Linked DNA regions of Homo sapiens: region 2 is linked to region 1. The links are contacts of gene promoters, found by promoter capture Hi-C in human tissues and cell types (Jung and others, 2019). All regions are on one chromosome and are shown on one strand. Each heading gives the region's core, a stretch centred on a gene start or on the middle of the fragment in contact. The rest is flanking DNA. Distances are from core to core; before and after follow the strand shown.

Evidence for each region. Contacts are between HindIII fragments. The study calls those that stand out against the background at their distance.
Region 2: a fragment that was not itself captured here is called in contact with the fragment with the promoter of RRH in region 1 in 1 of the 25 tissues and cell types used here (bladder).

The regions. Positions count from the first base shown.
Region 1 is chr4:109,826,171-109,829,900 of GRCh38, reverse strand. RRH (retinal pigment epithelium-derived rhodopsin homolog) reads right to left here and starts at 1,929. Exons shown (of 7, transcript NM_006583.5): 1 at 1,768-1,929. The coding sequence starts at 1,873. The HindIII fragment of the contact is 8,882 bases long and covers 1-3,023 here.
Region 2 is chr4:109,860,540-109,864,542 of GRCh38, reverse strand. The region is part of intron 2 of LRIT3 (leucine rich repeat, Ig-like and transmembrane domains 3); the gene reads right to left. Among named protein-coding and RNA genes, the nearest start is that of LRIT3, 14 kb to the right of the region's middle. The HindIII fragment of the contact is 4,650 bases long and covers 1-4,003 here.

The sequences.
Region 1 (3,730 bases), core at 680-3,179:
GATGCTTGATACAGGGGCAGAACAAAAGCATAAAGAGTTCAGCTATGCTTCCTTCAGTGGATCCACCAGAAACACAAACAACACACACTCATTGTATACCTTGATAAAGCTGACTCTTGGATTTATATGTGAGGGCTCTAGAACCAAAATGCCTGGGTTCAAATCCTGGTGTAGCTGCTTAGTAAATGTGTGTGCTGGACAAGTTTCTTAAGCTCTTCATCTGTATAAACTAGAGAAATAAAACTGAAGAGTAACTTACTAAATTAGTGTAAGGATGAATTATTCTGTATGTGTAAGGTTTTAGAACAGTGCTTGGTATATAGCAAGTATTCAAATGATAACATTAGTAGCAGTAGTAGTAAGATTACTATTATTATTACTGTTACAGAGATAAGAACTAAATAGAATATTTTCTGCATGCTAATTTTGTAACCAGGTCAAAAAAGGATAGTTTTGGTTGTTTTTTGGATTTTTTTTTTTTTTGGTCATCTACAAATAACTAACTAAACCAAACACTTGTATACAAAGTATTTCCATGTAATTGTTAGGAGATTTTCTCAGTCTTTTTTGCAATTACAAAAAAACTAGAACTTGTCTAGTACTTATCATAGAGGTATTCAAATGAACGAGATAACGTCACTAAAATCGCAAAACTTAACTGAGGAACTCAATTTCCAGTACTAGAAGTAATACGCTGAATTATAAGGAAGAAACGTAAACAATTATAAACTGGGTATAGGATGGTGTGTTATACTTTTCACTCTACTTTTGAATGTTTGAAAATTTTTATAAAAGTCAATCCAAAAAATAATGAACTCAATATAAGAGTTACTTCTACAACTCGTTAGAGTATAAAGTTGAAAATTAAGTGATTGCTCAATATAAAAGTTACACAATTCAATGATACATTAAAAAGATAAAAAGTTTCTGTCATTCCCCCATCCCTTTTTTTCTGCAAACAATCCTTTACATCAATGAGTGTGTAGGGAGGAAAGGGAAAAAGAAACAAATATTTGTCCAACACCTACTATATGGCATTTATGTGTCACTTAATTTTACTCCTTATAACAATCATGACAGATAACTTATTCTTATCCTTGTTTTACAGATGAGAAAATGGAAGAACAAAAAGGGAAGATACATGCTCACAGTTGCAAATATACTAAAAGATGAAATCCAAAACTCAAGAGTTTTCCAATAAGCATTCTGGAACAAGCTGAATTTTCAGACTCTGTCCTCAATGACAATATACCCTGCTCTGTCTTCTTAGGACTTTTTCTTTCCAGAACCTTTAAGTTCTTAGCTAAATTCTACCACCAAGAACAAAAATATGAGGGTTATGTATAAGAATAGTAAATGACATAAAAATATGTTTTTGCCATGGTGCATACTCTTCTCCAATAAAAACTTTAACAATCCAATAATCAAATACATAGATTTTTATGAAAGAACTATTTATCACATAGAAAACTTTTCTCAGCCCCACTTCACTGCTCTTATTTACCAAAATTCAAAATAACCTGTGGCAATGGCCATCACTAACAATGCTTTCCCTTATTCTTTCACCCACATTATCTTATTTGATCTTTACAGCCCAGAAATAGAGTATCATCATCCTCATTTACCAACGAGCAAGCCAAGTCAGGATAAATGACTTGTCAAGGTTGGCCAATAATATGGAACTTGAAACAATGCATGCCTTATGCTGAAAACTTCTGCCTTTCTTCACCCATTCTAAAGAAAAATAACTTACTTAAATATCCATACCTGCCATAATCAAGTAAGTTGCAACAATATTGTGTTCAGTCTGTGAAAAGACCGAGCCATCTTCATTTTTAGAGTCTGAACTGTTGCCTAAATTATTTCTTAGCATTTTGGAGGGAAGATACCGAAACACCCTTCATAATAAGCCTTCGATAATTATGAACTGCTTTATGAGCTACTGAGGAAAGATTTTTTAGGACCAATCATTTCCACTTAGAGACCTCAAAGAAGGGCCTTTTCATAGAGGCCCTCCCTTAACAAATTTAATTGGGCTAAAGAGGAAAGGACTTTAATTCCCAGAATAAGGGAAAAGCTTATTAGCAAAACAAAAAGAAATACCAAGCACCACACATTTTAACCTATTTGGGCATCAGTCTTCTATCTAAGGAGATTATCAAGCACACACATCCCATTTAACAATAAACAAACTCAGGAAATCAGTATAGGAGCCAGCCTTAGTCCTCTAAAACTATTCGGATTAAGGTCCCTGTTTTCTGTTGACCATTCAAGTCTTTCCATTTCGGCTCCTTTTGTTGTTTTTTTTTTCTTAACAATTTAAATATTAGTGACAAAGAAGTAGTCTCCTTCCTACTTCCAAATCTCACTCTCCTAAAGGTACCAGTATTGTTTGGTGCATATCCTTTCTTAGGCTTTTCTCTGCTTATACACATATTCATACAAGTGTTTCAGGTTTCCTCCACTTTCTTCTTGTAAATAAAAATGAGGGAAAAAAATAAGTACAAATGTATATATATAATGCAACTTGTTTTCCCATAAGGCTGTATTATAATATCCAAGTTAATAAACCCAGAATCTAATAAAGTCTAATTTATTAGTAGCTATGTATTTCATAGCATGGATATAATATGATCAACTCCACCATCCGTTAATTTCCCCTATAGTTTGATATGCACATGAGTAATTAATATTATCTGATGATAGTAATCATTGTATACTTTGCCAGAGTATCTGAATTCAATCACTGATATTGTAAAGTACAGAATAAAAATATTCTGGATTATCACATTACAACCTGAAAACCAACCTGAGCATGTTTTGTTAGAATAATAAGGTATCCCTATTACCTTTTTTCCCATATTCTTTATGCCATTAACATTATTAAAATCTGATTCTCCTCAGTTTCCTAAAATCAGTAAACATTAGAGAAATGCTTAGATGCACCAAAGTTAACAGTGTAAGCATAAAACAGAACCACTAGAGGGCTATATTTACCCACTTAGTTTAATTTTATAAAAATCCTAGAATGGCACAGCAGAAACCTAAGATAATCCTTTTGCTTCAGTTCTCTTGCCTGTGTATAAACTCAAGATGAACAGGTTGATTTATCTGTCCCAAATCTTATAGCTACCAGTACTCACATTTTTATAAATGTAATATTGTTATACCTATACTAGAAAAGCGAATCTCGTCAGTATTGTTTTCAAATGACCCTAGAGCAAAAAACATAATACCCAAGAGGAAATCACTCCCTTTAAAAAGTCTTTGTCTTTTCTTTCATTCAATATGCAAAACAAAACTTAAAATTTTTGAATTTGCTTTGGGTCATACTACCTTCCTTTTCTGTAATAAGTTATACCTAGTTGTAGCATCCATGAAAAATTTTCCAGAAATAATTATTTCTAAGAACTGAAAAATATATAATTTCAGATAGTCAGCTTTCTGCTGCAGATGAAAGTTTTGATATGAGTGAGGTAGGTGCATTTGAAGTTCTTTTTTATGCTTCCTTCATGGGTGATACAGAAAAGCTATATTGGGATAAGGCTTAGAAATACATGTGAATTTGATTCAAAATGAAATGCCTCAAAAAAACCCAGAAACTAGGCCAGGCGCAGTGGCTCACACCTGTAATCCCAGCACTTTGGGAGGCCAAAGCAGGCGGATCACCTGAGGTCAGGAATTCGAGACCAGCCTGACCAACATGGAGAAACCCCATCTCTACTAAAAA
Region 2 (4,003 bases), core at 1,028-3,527, 34 kb before region 1:
AAAAAGTTATAAAAGATTAAAAATGTTGCTATCAGTTGGTATTGTCAGCATTGTGAGCTGTAGTTTGCAAGAAATCAATGAATAAATATATGGCTTGCCTCTCACAAATAATTAAATCTCAAAGTGAGGATCCAATCACATGTCTGCTCCCTGAGTGAAAGAGAAAACCAGCAAAGAGAAGAGCACAGGATGCAAACTGGCAAGTGTCCTCTAGGGCAAAGGGATGTTATCATAGTGCCTAAGAGGAGGAAAGGGGATATTTTAAGTTAGATAAAAACAATCAAAAGATTTAGAAAGGAACATGTAAACACCCACCTTAATATAGTAAGAATTCATAAATAGAATGATACTAAAACATTTATATTGAAATAAAAGGTTACTTATATTTTATATCTATAAATTTGTGTCAAAATTTATATATAAAAGCTATGCTCATCATAGCTATTTTATTATTTAATTTTAAGATTAATTTCTAAATCTGCCAGCACATCAAATTTATTCAGTTATATAATATGTATAGACTATTTCATAGTTTGAAAACACTTCAACTTATGCCAGATTTTTTTCTTTATGTAATACTACCAATGCAAGTTACAAGTTTTGATTGCTTCCTATGTGGCAAAGACCGTGCTTCTCCAAAACTGCAGAGGCTCTGAGATTTGACCCTACTTTAGGGTGACCAACCTATTCCAGTTTGCCAGCAACTCATTTCAGTTTGCCCAGGACTTTCTTGCTTTTAGCACTGAGAGGTCCACATTCTGGGAAACTTCTCAGATATGGGCAAGTTTGCCTGCCATCGTTTTATGGATGTTGGTAGAAGACACAAGACTCCTGCTCAGGGTTGAAGGAGCTCATTGCTCACAGCACTGAAGGGAGACATCTTTATTATACTGGGTAGTAAGCATGCTTACCCTTTGCTCTGGAAGGAGATATATTTCTACCTCCAAAGCTGTTCTCTTGAAAAGATAGTGCAGAATAAAAGGTAATCCTTGAAAAGATAGTGCAGAATAAAAGGTAATCAATGTCTGCCTCTGCTCACAAGACATGCAGAGATTCAGGAGATCAAAGAACAACGGCACTAAGCGTCTGAAGGATGGACTGACTCAATCCTCACAAAAGCATGGGATAGGTAGTACTATTATCATCCCCATTTTAAAGATGAGAAAACCAAGGTTCAGGAAGCTTAAGGAATCTGCCCAGGGTCACACAATTGGACAGCCAGGATTTGAACTTCAGTATCCTGATCTTAAACCACCATGCTGGTTAAAGGTTTTAACCACCCACCACAGTGGTTAAAGCTCTTAACCGCCATGTTATGCCTTCTACCACCTCTGGAATCTGGTATTATTCTTCCAGTTTTACACCAAAGGAAGCCAAAGCACAAAGATATTACTATCTTGACTTTGTAAATGGCTTAGAATCCTACATCCCAGATTTTTTTAGCATCCTAATCTAATACCCTTTCTATCATAACTCATCTCTTTGCCATCTAAAAACATTTAGAGTCATAGTGACAGTCATAAGCGCTATTATTTACAAATAAAAAAATGTCCAGGCACAATGGCTCACACCTGTAATCCCAACACTTTGTGAGGCTGAGGTGGGAAGATTGCTTGAGGTCAGGAGTTCAAGGCCAGCCTGTGCAACATGGCAAGATCCTGTCTCTACAAAAAATACAAAAATACAAAAATTAGCCAGGTATGGTGGCGGCACTTGCCTGTTGTCCCAGCTACCAGGAGGCTGAGTTGAGGGGATCAACTGAGCCCAGGAGTCATGGTTTGTGCCACTGCACTCCAGCCTGGGTGACAAAGTGAGATACTCTTTCAAAATAAAATAAAATTTAAAAATGTTAAAGCAGCAATATCTGGAGTATAAATGTTTACACAGGGAAAGATTTAAGAGCTATACAATGTTAACAATTTATTTCATGCTTTGAAATTATTAAAAAATGTATTAATGGTGAAAGAAAATTCTTTAAAAAATTAATTTCACTGGTTATATATAAAAGTTATGTAAATATTTTTAAATCCTTCAAAAATAAAATGTCTATTTACTCCAGCTTGAAACTTCTAAGGTCAAAGGTACAATTTTTAAAACCTGAATAAAAATAGTGATCCAAGAACTGAATATATTTAAGTGTTTTTTTCTTCTGAGGACAAAGGAAAGAGAACTCTCTCAAGTTAAACTGTTACTTGCACTGCATTCCTTCAAGGCAATACATCAACTACAATTACACTAATTTGCATTAATTAGTTTACTTTATATAACTATTCTTGGATGGGACAAGTGAACTTTATCCTTTCTAAAAGAATAGTATTTATATGCATCAGAATAGTTGGACTAAATGCGCTATTTTTGTGTGAAAAGTGAGCAATAAATTTTTGTACAAAAGTTATTCTGAGGACTATAAGCCCTTGAAGGCAAAGACTATGCCTACTCAGCTTTGTGGAGACAACCATGTTTAACAATTCAGTAGGGAAAGGAACGTCTTTTTAATGAATGGTGCTGGAACAAGTGGACACGTGTTTGCAAGCATATGAACCTCAACCCCTACTTTACACAATACTCCAAAACTATTTTGAGATGGATAATAGCTATAAGCCTAAGAGCTAAGAATATACAGCTAAAAATTGAGTATAAAGGCTAAAACTATAAGAAAATATCATATCTGTGATTTTGAGGTAGGCAAACATGTTTTAGATGATACACAGAAAGCACTAACTGTAAAAGGAAAAAACTAATGAATCAAATGTCATCAAAATGTAAACCTTTTTTTACTAAAGACACCAGGAAAAAATAAATAGGCAAGTCAGCCTTGGAGAAAATATTCACAGTGCATATAACAGACAAAAGACTTATATTCAATAAAGAAAAGACAAATAGCCCTTAAAAATTAAGCAAAAGATAGTTCATAAAGGAAGATATACAGTGACCCATAAGCAAATGAAAATCTGGCCAACACCATTAATAATCAGGGAAATGGAAATTAAAAACACATTGTGATACCGCTTCCTGACCCACCCACCCCCCAGAATAGCTGAAATGAAAAAGACCAACAACATTAAGTGTTGGTGAGGATATGGAGCAACCAGACTGTCATGCAGTGCTAGTGGGAATGTATAATGTTATACAGTCTCTTTGGAAAACAGGAAGTTTCCTTAAAAGTTATACATATAGCCATTCTTTTTCTCTTTTTTTTTTTTTCCACCCAGGATGTAGTGCAGTGACGTGATCTCAATTCACTGCAACATCTGCCTCCCAGGTTTCTCCTACCTCACCTGAGTAGCTGGGACTATAGGCATGCACCACCACACCTGGCTAATTTTTGTATTTTTTAGTAGAGGCAGGGTTTCGCCACATTGACCAGGCTGGTCTCAAACTCCTGACTAAAAGTGATCTGCCTGCCTTCGCCTCCCAAAGTGTTGGGATTACAGGAGTGAGCCATGGCCCCCAGCCATATAGCCATTCTATAATCCAGCAATTTCAATTCTAGGAATTTATCCAAGATAATGAAATGAAAACATGTGCCACAAAAAGCTTTGTACAAGAATGTTAATTGCAGCTTAATTTATTATGGCCCCAAACTCGAAACACCCATGTGTCCAACATCAGGAGAAAGGATGAACAATTGCTTCATTCATACAATTGAATACAATTTTGCAATAATGAACTACCAATACATGCGACAGCATGGATGATTTTCAAAAACATGATGCTGAGTGAAAGAAGCCTGGCACAAAGGTTCATCTTATATGATTCCATTTACATAACATTCTAGAGCAGGCACAATTAACCTATAGTGATGAAAATTCAAATAGGTGAGGCAAGATTGACTGGAAAGAAACACAGAACTTTCTGAGGTCATGGAAATATTCTGTATCTTGATGATGGTGTAAGTTATGTAAGGGTATACATTTATCAGAATTTAACAAACTGTAGACTTACAATCCTGCATTCCACCTATACAAAGTATACCTTAATGTCTCCATTAAAAACAAGGTTT